Linked DNA regions of Homo sapiens: all the other regions are linked to region 2. Evidence: promoter capture Hi-C in human tissues and cell types (Jung and others, 2019). All regions are on one chromosome and are shown on one strand. Each heading gives the region's core, a stretch centred on a gene start or on the middle of the fragment in contact. The rest is flanking DNA. Distances are from core to core; before and after follow the strand shown. Region 1 overlaps TTC29 (tetratricopeptide repeat domain 29). Region 2 holds the start of TTC29 (tetratricopeptide repeat domain 29). Region 3 overlaps LOC105377475 (a long non-coding RNA gene).

The links. Contacts are between HindIII fragments. The study calls those that stand out against the background at their distance.
Region 1: a contact is called between a fragment that was not itself captured here and the fragment with the promoter of TTC29 in region 2, in 1 of the 25 tissues and cell types used here (adrenal gland).
Region 3: a contact is called between a fragment that was not itself captured here and the fragment with the promoter of TTC29 in region 2, in 1 of the 25 tissues and cell types used here (spleen).

Annotation. Positions count from the first base shown.
Region 1 is chr4:146,905,016-146,909,057 of GRCh38, reverse strand. TTC29 (tetratricopeptide repeat domain 29) reads left to right here. Exons shown (of 13, transcript NM_031956.4): 5 at 1-32. Among named protein-coding and RNA genes, the nearest start is that of TTC29-AS1, 27 kb to the left of the region's middle. The HindIII fragment of the contact is 5,691 bases long and covers 1-4,042 here.
Region 2 is chr4:146,943,907-146,948,352 of GRCh38, reverse strand. TTC29 (tetratricopeptide repeat domain 29) reads left to right here and starts at 2,489. Exons shown (of 13, transcript NM_031956.4): 1 at 2,489-2,644; 2 at 3,276-3,322. It overlaps TTC29-AS1 (TTC29 antisense RNA 1), which reads right to left. Exons shown (of 7, transcript NR_188447.1): 3 at 2,799-2,922. RefSeq lists a silencer at 2,357-2,496. The HindIII fragment of the contact is 11,756 bases long and covers 1-3,816 here.
Region 3 is chr4:146,984,123-146,988,352 of GRCh38, reverse strand. It overlaps LOC105377475 (a long non-coding RNA gene), which reads left to right. Exons shown (of 5, transcript XR_939315.3): 5 at 4,015-4,230. Among named protein-coding and RNA genes, the nearest start is that of TTC29, 40 kb to the right of the region's middle. The HindIII fragment of the contact is 7,005 bases long and covers 1-4,230 here.

The DNA.
Region 1 (4,042 bases), core at 906-3,405, 39 kb after region 2:
CCTGACCAGGGCTGAGGACGCTGAGAGGAAAGGTAAGTGGTGGGACTGTGGGCAGAGCACAGAAGGAGCCAGAACACCGAGCTCCTGGGGGAAGATTCCAGATTGTTTCATGTATGAATTTGAAACATTAAGACAACTTAGCACACTTCAACCCAGTCAATTAAACGTCTTTATGGAATTAAGGAAAGGGAATGTTGGATCACGAGGCTGCCCAGACACGGGGGCATTCTGGTGATGTCCTTCCGAGCCAGGGAAGACAACACATAGCACCTAATAATATCTCCAGAACTTCCCCCATGAATTAACATAGTTCCTATCATTAGGTTTAAACCTTTCTACAGTTTTTCTGTATACGTAATCTGAATATTGACTTTCATAGAGGAGATACTTTCAAAGAGTACTATAACTTGAAAATCACACTGATTTTCCTAAGTTTAGATAGTGGACTTTGAAGTTTGGGTCAAGAAGTCCTACTGATTTGAATCAGAGAATTTATCTTTGTAAATAGTAAAAAGACATGAAAATCCTGCAATTCACAATTGCAAATAAAATTGTCAATTTTATATTTTCCATGACATCATTTCTAATACATTTTTTGTATTTCAAAATTTTCCAGAAAGTTAGTATACATTCCAAGTATTAAATATTTTCATTTCTACACTAATTATACTGATATTGTTGTCATAAATATTTCTTAGTTACATATTAGGAACTGGTCATTTTAACTAGTCATCTATAATCAAATAAAAAAATGAAATTCTAGAATTTGGCATGTAAATTTGGTATTCTAAATTATTCTTTTCTCCAAATTTTTTGGGGAAAATACCACAGGATTCAAAAAGAAAAACTCAGGCCTCAACATGACAATGTCTACATGTCATTTCAGGCTTTTCTATGAGAAAATAGGGTATCAGCAACTTTTTGTTACCCAATGGTACCATGGAGAAAATTTATGGAGTCATGTAAACAACATTAGAAGAGTCTCTATATGTTGGAGCCAATACATATTTCCCATCAGGTTGTGACCTGACTTATGAATATGAGACACACAAAAATGTGAACAACAAAACAAATGAACTAGGGTGTGTGTGTGGCAGGGGTGGGATAGGAGGTGGTTATGTATATTATGAAAAGGGTTTCACTGCAGGATGGATGTGAAAAAAAATATTTTGGTGAACTTTAAAATATTATTTACAATTATTTCTCAAGAAATTAACTATTGTAAATAAAAAGTGCTATTATAAAAAACCTCCATTTTGGCTGGGCGCGGTGGCTCATGCCTGTAATTCTAGCACTTTGGGAGGCCAAGGCGGGTGGATCACCTGAGGTCAGGAGTTTGAGACCAGCCTGGCCAACATGGTGAAAACCCGTCTCTACTAAAAATACAAAAAAATTAGCCGGGCATGATGGCGGACGCCTGTAATCCCAGCTACTCAGAAGGCTGAGGCAGGGAATTGCTTGAACCCGAGAGACAAAAGTTGCAGTGAGCTGAGATTGCTCCATTGCGCTCCAGCTTGGGTGACAAGAGCAAGACTCCATCTCAAAACAAAACAAACAAAACAAAACAAAACAACCTACATTCTAGTATTTGCCCAAAATTCTACAGTGATATTTAAACTGAAAGTAGAACTAAGATAATATTTGCTCATTAGCTGTTTTATTCCATTGAATTTTATCATATTCACTGTTTTAAATTGAGGCTTTCATTGGAGATAGTGTAAATATAAGCTAAATATGTCACTTGTCATAAGGTGTCATAGATGTGAGCCAGCTTGTCATAAAGCTTTTTCAAATTTATAAGAACCTAAAATGCCAAATAGTCTATTTGAGGGTAGAAAACATTTTAATATATAATATTTCTTAAAGGAAAGTTACTATAAGTAAAAATGTTTCTCCAATCCAAAAGTTAACAAAGCCTAACTTTTTGTTTTGTTTTGAGACAAACTCTTGTTCTGTCAACCAGGCTGGAGTACAGTGATGTGATCTCAGCTCACTGCAACCTCCTTCTTCCAGGTTCAAGTGATTTTCCTGCCTCAGCCTCCCGAGTAGCTGGGACTACAGGCACAAACCACCATGCCAAGCTAATTTTTGTATTTTTAGTAGAGACGGGGTTTCACCATGTTGGCCAGGCTGGTCTCGAACTCCTAACCTCAAGTGATTCTCCTACCTTGGTCTCCCAAAGAGCTGGGATTACAGGCGTAAGCCACCGCACCTGGCCCAAAGTCCAAAGTTATAATAGCCAAAGTCTCTTCTGTAGGATTATCTCCCACAAAATGCAGTGGCTTTTGTCTGGTTGAAATATAGAAAATTAAAATTATTACAAAAGTATTACTGGAAAAACTTCAGCTGAAGGACATGTAAACATTTGTGTCACCTTTTTTCAAAAATTGTTATAATTTTTTTTCCACATTCAACACATGAACTTTATTGGAGGAAAATTGTGGTTTGAATTAGGGATGTACCAGAAAATGAGATATGCACATTCACTCTTATTAACTTGAATGAATCCTAAATCTTAAAATGTGTATGTAAGCCTAGAATATAGAAATGTGTTAATAGTATCTTAAAGTTCCATTCCATATGGTTGTGACATTAGAGGCAATTTTCCTGAGATAGCATATAACTGAGCAATCTCGTTGCTTCTCATTGGAAGAACCATCACTCTAGGGTCACAGTGAAGTTCATTTAATCAAAGCTATGGCATTAACAATAGTCATCTCAGGTCAGTTCTATCTCTTGAGACTTACAGAGCAGTAACCTAGAGTTATTTAAATTACTTTATAAAACACTTGCTGTTTTATAGCAAAGGTGTGTTTAAAGTAAGCCAATCATTTCTTTTTGGGTTATTTTCCATTTGTTAAAGTGTTTCTTTGTCCCTGATACTTTTTTTTTTTAAATATTATCCATTGTCATGAATCATTGCTGTGCCATCTGTGACATCTGATTTGAGCCTTATGCCCCATGGGGCTAGGGAAGAGATGACAAAAATGGTAATGGGTAAGAGAATCAATAGATAATTCAAACATTATTTACACTTGACTTTTAAATTTATTAAGGGTTGAGCAGCAATTTTTTTCTAATAATGTTTGTTTAAGATACACAAATTATGTTCTAAGGCAAAATTCCACAGGTGTTTACAGATTTGATGTAAAGCAAAACAAAACAATTTTCTGGCCAAATAAGCTTGAGAAATACCCGGTGAACTAACATTGAGGTTAAGCAGGTTAATTTATTGCAGGACTAATCAGAGCATTCAGCATGCTGATGTATATTGTGTGGTTTACTGAAAAAGGAAATTTGCAAAAATGTTTCCCAAATTTATTTTATTGTAGAATCTTCTTTTTAAGGAGCATAAGAAACCCACAATAAAATTGATTTTCATCTTCTGAATATACCTGCTGTCAATTCAAGGAAGTGGTCTACAAGCAAGGAGAGAAGGCTACTTGTAGCCTTTGTAAAGGGTACAGGACACATATTTGGATTGCCCAAAGATTTGAAACTTGAATATATTCTTTTATATTTAATATTCTAGAAAACAATCCTTTATTCATAGAAAAATAGCTTAGCTGACAAGTAGTCTTTAAATATGTAATCTTGGTAGCTTATCTAACTCATTCCTAAAAAAAAAAACCTTATGAAATGTTGCAAATATTTTTACATTAAGGTTTAATTACTAAAATATAAAAAAATTGTTTCGGGACTACATATATTTTTAATTATATATATATATATACTTTTTATTAAAGTGGAAAATATGAAATGTTTTACTTACTGACTTCTAAAAGCAATAACTCTCTAATCAGTAAATATAACCAAGAATATGAAATATTACAAAACAGACTTTAGTGTTGTATTCACATTATGTAGGAAGTTCATAATGGAAAGACAAAGCACAGAAGTATTCTGAGGTGGGAGTATTTGCGTCAGATAAATAGCTTAGGTCATGCGCTACTTTTCACCTGAGCTGTCACCTGGTGTGAGTGTCCTCGAAAAGCAGAATGGCTCTCCAGAATCTCCAGCAACTTCCAGGATAGGGAGACCT
Region 2 (4,446 bases), core at 1,240-3,739:
TGGATACCCTTTTGGATGAAGCCTTTAAAGCTAATGTGCAGTTTACTCTCATGATCTCTCTGCTACAGACCAGCCATCCTCCAGGTGGCAAAGGTTCTCTCATATTGATTCTGCTGTGGCATAGCATGGAGCAAAACCCAAGGCTGACTTGTGATGGTGACATACGGTAATCAATCAATAAATTTTGTTGTTTTAGGCCACACAGATTTGTGGTTGTCAATTTGTGGTTGTCACTGCATATGGATCTTACTACTACATCACATACAAAGGAAGGACAATAAAATTGCCACTAGACTTCTCATCCCAAACACTGGATACTAGAAAACAGTGAAATAATACCTTCTAAATTCAGAGGGAAATGATTGTTAATCTAGAATGTGCAATCCTACCAAATGATTGTAGGCAAAATAAGGATATTGTCAGACATGAAAGAACTTAAAATTTTATCTCATATGTTCTTTCCTAAGATGTTACTTGGGGATGTGTTTAGTAAAACAAGAATGATTCAGAATAATTTTACTGTAGAAATTGATGATTGAGATATCAAAAACACTTTGAGAACAATTATGGGGAGCAGTTAAGATGGATTGGCTTCCATTAGAAAATTGTCTCTTGCTTCTTTAGGGAGCTGACCTAACCTAAAATCATTTCTCCAGAGCAAGACTGGAAGAGGAAACTTTAGAGGTTGTTATGTCAGTAATAGCATTCAAACTATCAGTTGTGTCACCTGACCTTCCCCCTAGAATTCTAGGTGGAGAAGATTGAGGAAGCAATGAGAAGAATTACACAAGGAAGAATCTGTTTGAAAAACCACTCTATTCTGTCATTCTGTTAATTCAAAAAATATTTTTGAGCACATACTGTATACTAATCCTTGCATACGGTACAAGGGAATTCAGAAAACAATAAAACAAAGTCTCTGCTTTCAAGGTACTCACAATCTTTCAGGCAAGTTTGGTTCCCATAAGCCAAACACCATGCAAAGTTATACTGATAAAATCAAGGTAGGTCTAAGAGAAAGGAGGCGAGAGGAGGAGAAATTAATTCTGTGTAGTGAAAGGAAGAGGTATTCTGGAATCCTCAAAACTTTCAGAAAGGCCTGAGTTTCTAGATAAAGTTGCAGCTGAATCTGGCATCCTTTGGTTTTCATCAGTTTCCTTTTTTGCTTAAGCCCGTTTGTGTTTTCTGTCACTTGCAAACAAAGTTCTCTAACTGAAGGAATTCTATGCTAAACAGAAGGAGAAAGAGAGTTAGTCAAAGAACTTCTAGTGAAAAAACAGCAAGTAGGAGAAGTAAGTCCAAAGAAGCAGGAAGGAACTACCTAGAAAGCCAACTAAGACAGCCTCCTGTGAGAAAGGAAGGTGCATGGAATTCACAAACAGACTCTAAGTCAGAAAAAGCAGCAAGGACTGGAAAAGAATTCACACAGGTCACAGTGGAGTGTGTTAAGGTGATGCTGAAACTGGAAAATAAACTCATGAGAATAGAATGAGAGTCTTACTGGTGTGGGGGATGGGGTGGAGCCCAATTACAGATAGTCACAGTGCTCATTGAATGTATAATGTAAACATACTTGGAAATAATTTAGTAATTTGTTACAGCAAATGAGATGTTAGAATGAAAGTGTGGTTATGGTTGATATGCTTGTACTCTAAATAGAATCGATTTATGGTTAATAGAATGATTCGTGTGAGCAATATCGCTGGCTCGTTCTCCTACAATGTGTGTCAGTAGACAAGGAACAATAGCCTAACTTTCCAGCACTTCTGTATTTTAGAAGTAACAAGTGGCAAGCCTCACTCTCTTGCCCCATATATATATGAGGGAATGAGCAAGGAATTTCACTTCCTTGCACTCATGTCTGAGAGAAGAGATGGAATGATGGGCCGAGATTAATACGATGATATTTATTTAGTGTAAATATAAAACCCTGAGTTTCAGGTAAAAATGCAAAACAAATAAGGACAGATGCAGGGAGATTCTCTGAAAGAGACCTTGAGTATTTAGCGAACCACAATTCAAAATTGAATTGTCTGTGGGGACATGACAGGAAAAGGCATTTGTGGTGGGTTCTGACTGCAAGAGAGGCTGAGGAAGAGGAGAATGAATGACTTAGCTAGATGGATAAATTGGCTTCAGGTCACGGGGATCATGAATGCCTAGCTCAGCGTTTTCCCATCAATCCTGTGGACAAAAGAGAAATGAAGAAAAAGCATTGAGAATGCAAGGCCACGAAAGAAATGAAAGTGGCAAATTCGAGCCTCTTGGGTTACGTGAAAATGCCTAAAAGCGAGCTAACTTCTGAAAGCAGCCCTGCTTGAAAAGCCTCAGCTATCTGGGGGCCCCGCCCGGCCGTCAGTAAGCTCCACCCCTCGCCAGACTCCGCCCCCAAGCCCGAAGAGTCTGGGAGCTGCCCCAATCCCGAGGCCCGGTTTAGCCTAACTCCACCCCCGGCCGTCATGCCTCGCCTCTCTGTTTCCGTGGAGACGCTCTCGGCGTCCCCTGTCTCCGCTCCGGCGGAGCCAGGCTTCGGAATCACTGAGAGAGGAGGGGGCAGCGCCAACGCCCAGCACCTGCCGCCGGTGGGGGACTGACTTCGGCGGAACGGAAAACTGGAGTTGTTTCCCTGGGCCAGTGCACCGAGGTTCGTGACGGCAGGGGCGAGGTTGGGACCGGACTTCCTCAGCTCCTTGGAGAGGCAGGCTGTTCTTCAGGCAGCCCCTTCCCTGACCCCTACAGCCAGCCCTTCCTCCATCAGTCTTTCTCAAGCTTCCTCAGTCCAGGCCCTCGCCACTTACCTCAATAAACGAATTGAAAGAGAAGTAGGGAAAGGCGCCAGTTCCTCTTGCTCCCCAGTTCACCTGACCCTCTGAGGGGAGTGAAAAACTAGGCATAGGATAAGTCCTTTAGTCCTGTTGAGAACTAGGTGGGAACAGAAAGGGAACTGAGATGCTCTCCGTTTTTGGCAAAGATAACTGTATCTCGTAAATTTGAGAGAACAAATGGTTATCCCTAATGTCACATTTGTATTGAAATACATCAATACATATACATATTTCAGATGTTTTGGCATTTCACTGATTTAGTGATTAGTTTCTCTCATAGGATCTATACTTGGGGATTTTCTTTAAAAGTTCATCTAAACTTAGATGGTAGGAAGTATTTGTTGTAAGAGTGAATCTTATTCCATGACTTGGAGCGGGGAGAGGAGTTACACTACTGAATGATTTTAAATTTTTCTTCTTTGCTATTATTCTTTGCTTCCTGATTTTCAGGCTGAAGTCTATAAGCCTGGAGAGACCATCAGCAGTAATCTGCAAATGTAAGTCACGTGAAATATGGCTTGCCTTCAAACTCATTTCCTGCTTGATTTTGTGATTTAGCCATCAATGTCAGCTGGTAGGAAATGTGTGTTTTCTATTTATTTTACTAAACAACCTATCTACCCATGAGAGAGTGCCAGAAGTGTCCAAAAATTATGATACCGAGAATAAACATTATTACTGACTCTTTATAAACTTAATTATGTTTTTTTTTTTACTTAGGGAGCATAATTAGTGATATTTCTTCTGTAGTTTTCATTAAACTTTCATAGTAAAAGAGCTTGGATAATATGAAAAGTTTTAATTCTTATGAATGATTTTTAGTAAAATCCTACTTGTTTTGAACTCGTGATGATGTATAATAAACTTGCTTACTGTGGTTTACTGGCTTTATTTCTCTAATCTCAGTTTTTACTCCAAAGTGACTGAACCCTGCAGACACTGGTCAGCCTCAGACATAGTCATTCTCCAAGTAGCCTCCATTTACATAGTAGTAGGTCTCCCTCCTTTGTGTTTCCTGATAAAGGCATCTCTGGGGATAGAGGGCAGGAGAGTTACTCTTTGAAGAATTTTACTTGGGGGCCAAAAATTTAAGCTCACACCATGGGACACATTCAGCCTGACCTAGCACTCTCAAACCTTTCATCCTGTATTTCTCCATTTTCATTTGTCTTTGCATGTGGGGGCCAAACTTAGAGATTGTAGCTGTGATACAAGAGCCAACCAGCAGATCAAAGAGTACACCAAATTTCTTCTGAATACCAACAGTGGAATGGCTTCAGGCGGCCTTTTGATCTTTGTCTCAGCACCCGATGATGCCACACTGTAGCACTGCCCACTTGCTAGCACTGGCGGAGGTTCCTGTGGGTCCTCCTAACAGGCTGATTCAGCCTGAGCTCCTGGGGCTAAGCTCATTTGGTAGCAGCCAAAGAGGTATCTTTCATTCTTCTTCTTTCTTACTCACCTGAACCTGAGCAATTTCCCTTCCTGCAGCCACACCATCTTGTGTGTTTTCCCCTGAGATGTTGATCTGGGAGAACCCTAAGGAGGTGCCATAACTAGTGGTGATATGCTCCATTTATGCTACAGGCCTGGGTCAGTCACCTCATAGCACTAGTCCCAT
Region 3 (4,230 bases), core at 754-3,253, 40 kb before region 2:
TTTAGGTTTAGAGGGTATATGTGCAGGTTTGTTACATGGGTATAAATCATTCTACCATAAAGACACAGTCAATTTTGTTTTAAAGAAATTAAGATACAAGCAGAAAACTTTTCTGTTTTACCCACATATTCCTCATTTCTGGTGTTTTTCACTCCTTCCTGTAGATCCATGCTCCCGTTGGGTATCATGGTTTTCCACCCAAAAAACTTTATCATTTATTGTAATTCAAGTCAGCTGTTGATGAAAGTTCTTAGCATTTGCTTATTTGAAAATGTCCTTATTTTGCTTTCATTTTTAAAGAGTATTTTCTTTGCATTTAGAATTCTAATTTGACAGGTCTTTTCTTTCAGTGCTTCAATAGTAACATCACTTGATATTCTGGCTGGCATTATTTCTTTTTCTTTTTTTCTTTCTTTTTTTTTTTTAAGATGGAGTCTCACACTGTTGCCCAGGCTGGAGTGCAGTGGCACAATCTTGGCTCACTGCAACCTCCGCCTCCCGGGTTCAAGGGATTCTCCTGCCTCAGCCTCCCGAGTAGCTGGGATTACAGGTGCCCGCCACCATGCCTAGCTAATTTTTTTTTTTTGTATTTTTAGTAGAGATGGGGTTTCACTACATTGGCCAGGCTGGTCTCAAACCTCTGACCTTGTGATCTGTCCCACTTGGCCTCCCAAAGTGCTGGGATTACAGGGTAAGCCGCTGCACCTGGCCAATTTCTTTGAATATTTTTTCTGCTCTATCTACACTCTCTCTCTCTTCTCCTTTTGGATTCCAAATACACATATATTAAACCTCTTGCTGTTCCCACATGTTATCTCTGGTCCTGTAGTTTGTTTGTTTGTTTGTTTTCAGTTTTTTTCTTCCCTCTGTTTTTAGTTTGATTGTTTCTTTTAATTGGTTTTTAAGTTCAGTGACCTTTCTTACGCACTGCTGTTAAAACTATGCATTAAATTTGTCTTTTCTTATATTGTATTTTTCAATTCTAGCATTTCCATTCATCTTTTGATAGTTTTATTTTTCCATTGTCATACTATACCTGGCCACCCATTATGTCCATTTTTAAATTCTTGAACATATTTGCAATAGCTGCTTTAAAGGTCTTTTCTGCTAATTGCAACATATTTGTCAACTCTGGATTTGTTTTTTCCCTGTCATAGTTTTATGTCACAGTTTTCTAATTCTTTGCCTATCTAATTATGTTTTGTTGTATGCCAAACATTGTTAATGCTACGTTGTTAAAAATCTGTATTTTATTGTCTTCCTTTAAAGAGTGCTGAGGTTTTTTTTCTTTTTTTTTCTGACAAGCAGTTAAATTACTGGTGGACCAGCCTGATCCTATCAAAGCTTGGTTTCAGATTTTGTTAGGGCAGTTAGAGTATCCCTGGCTCTAGGGCTAGAGAAGCTCAATGCCAAAATGTGGCCTTTCTGGATTCTTCAGGAATGCCTGAGTTTTCCGGAAGATTTCTCCATGTCATTGGCTGGAATTCCAACCTCTCCCAGTCCTGTGTGATCTCTAGAATCCCTGTTCAGTTCACAGCGCACCTCACACTATCATTGTTCCCTGCCAAAACAGGTCTTTCACAGTCTCTCATTGCACAAGTATAGCTTACTATCCAGCAAAACACGTAAAAAGGCCCAGCTGCAACCTCAGTCATCTCATTATGTGGGTACAAGCTAAAAATGGATGGCATTTGTTTGACAACTATAGTCAGAGATATCCCTGAAACATGTGGAGAATGAAAAATTGGCTGAGCTATGAGCAGTGCACTTTCTCATGCACTTTGTGTGGAAGAACATATAAATATTTCTGAGCAGTGGCCATCGTCCTAACAAATTGCTCAGGGACTTCGAGGGGAAAAAGACTGGATGATCTGAGAAAAGTAGTTCTGAATAGAGGCATTTGGATAGACATATGAGAGTGAACACAAAGCAAAAAGGTTTTTGTACCACCTATTAATGCCCACCAAAAAGCATCTATCCCTGAAGAGATACTAAAAAAAGAAATAGATAATATGAGTTGGTGAATTGATTTAGCCAGCCTTCATTGTCAACTACCCCAGGCATGTGATGGCATTATAGGATATTATGGAGGTGACATTGCCCCAAAGCATGGACTCCCACTTACCAAGGCTGATATAGCTATGGCTACCTCTGAATACCCAACCTTCCAGCAACAGAGACCAGTGATAAATTTCCAACATGACACGTTCCTCATGGAATACTCCTGGAAGGTCCAGAGGTTCACAGGGATGGATACCTAAACTAAATATGGGTTTGCCTTTTCTGTCCCAGGGCAACACTGTGTGTGTCCCACTCTATTATTTGGTGGTTTATGGAATGAGTGATCCACAGGCAAGAAATCTCACAAAGCATAGCCTCTAACCATAAGACCAACTTCATAGTGAAATGAGCACAGAAGTGGATCTGAGATCATGGGATTCAGTGGTTGTATCACATACGCTACCAACCAGATGCAACTGGTCTCATACAAGTCTGGAAGAGTCTTCTAAAGGTGCCAATGGAAGCACCAGCTCAGAGGAAACACTGAAAGGTAGATGTCATTCTCTAGGATGCAGTGCATTTAATTAACTAGAGATCCAATATGCTGTATTCTCTATAGGAAAAAGGCATGGGTTAGAGCATCAAGGGGTAGAAGCAAGAATAGCCTCACTTGTCATAACTCCCAGTGACATACTGGTAGTTTCATGCTTCCTGTCCCTACAACTCTGGACTCTTCAGGGCTGGAAGTCTGGGTCCCCAGTAGGCACGTGCTCTGCTAGGGAACATAGCATTGAACTATAAGTTATGGCTGCCTCCAGAGCACATTGAACTCATTATTCCCAGACCCCTGGTAAGGAGAGGAGTCACCTTACTGGCAAGAGTAATTTTCCCTGATCAGCAAGAGGAGGCAATGCTGTTTTTACCCAATAGGGGCATGGAGGAATGCATATGAAACACAGGTGCTCTATTTGGTCACCACCTGGTTCTCCCTTTACTTGCTGTATCTGTGAATGGACATTTGTAGCAACCTCAGGCTTAGACAAATGTGATTTTCAGGGGTTTGGATACTTCAGAAATGCTACCAAGACTTGCCTAGGGAATAGCTGAGTGTAAAGGGAGTTGGAATGCATAGTGGAGGAGAGTCAGGGTAAGTCTCAGTTATGGCCCCAACATCAACAGGAGCAATGGGAGCAGTAGCTCATCCCAGTCACCTCCCTATTCTGAGTTTTCCCACAGGAAGGAAAGACCACAGAAACCACAGAGGAGCTACTCTACAAATCTGCATAAAAGTAAATCTGTGTGGCCTAAGAGTGGCCTGTGGCAGCCATGAGAAACACACCTTGTAGATCTGCAACTGTGTGGGAGTATACTTGACCAAAGGCCCCAGCTGCTGCCTTTTAAATCCATTGCCACATTTCTCTCTGATGAACCTATGCTCTCAACATGCTGCTTCCGGTCAATGATGAGCGCATTGGTTCTGCTAAGGCAGGACAATTCCTGGAAGACACTGGCATCCTCTGACAGCAAATTTGATTTTGAGGACTCCCCATGGCCTTGCTTAGACTGTACAGCACTCAGACTTCCTTCCCTCTCTCCTCTCTGGTCAGACTTGCACTGCAGTCTGATGGTGCTCCCAGTCTAACCTAGCTTCGACCTATTTTCTCAAACAGAGTATTTCTCCTAATAGAATTCTTGCCTGTTAATCCTGTCTTAGTGTCTGCTTCTTTCAGAAGCAGGATTAAGAACTTGATAGTTTTCTTGGTATGACGTGAAGACTTTGAAGGATTGAAAGGAGGGGAATGATATGATCAATTACTTGTTCAGCCAGTGGTGTTCAATATTATGTGCCTAATATTTTATGAGGTCACTTCAGATACAAAGCCAAGAACTGAGAGAATAGTGAAGGAGTGCTTTGCCTTGTCCCCTTCCAATTACTAGTGTCCCTGATTATGACTGTAGAAAATTAATATGGATTGTGTCTTCCATCTACAATCTATTCTTGTCTTATTCCAGTCATCACAACTCCATCTTTCTCCCTCACGAAACTGTTTCTCCTGAATGCCCATGAAAATGTTATCACATAGGAAATATTTGTGAGACCTGATCTCTAATAATTATCAGCACTGAACGACTTTTGAATGAAGAAAATGGTAAGAATTATCTCATCTCTTAGGATTCTTCTATTTGGTAACTATTAATACATTTGCTAATTTTTTCATTTACTAGCAA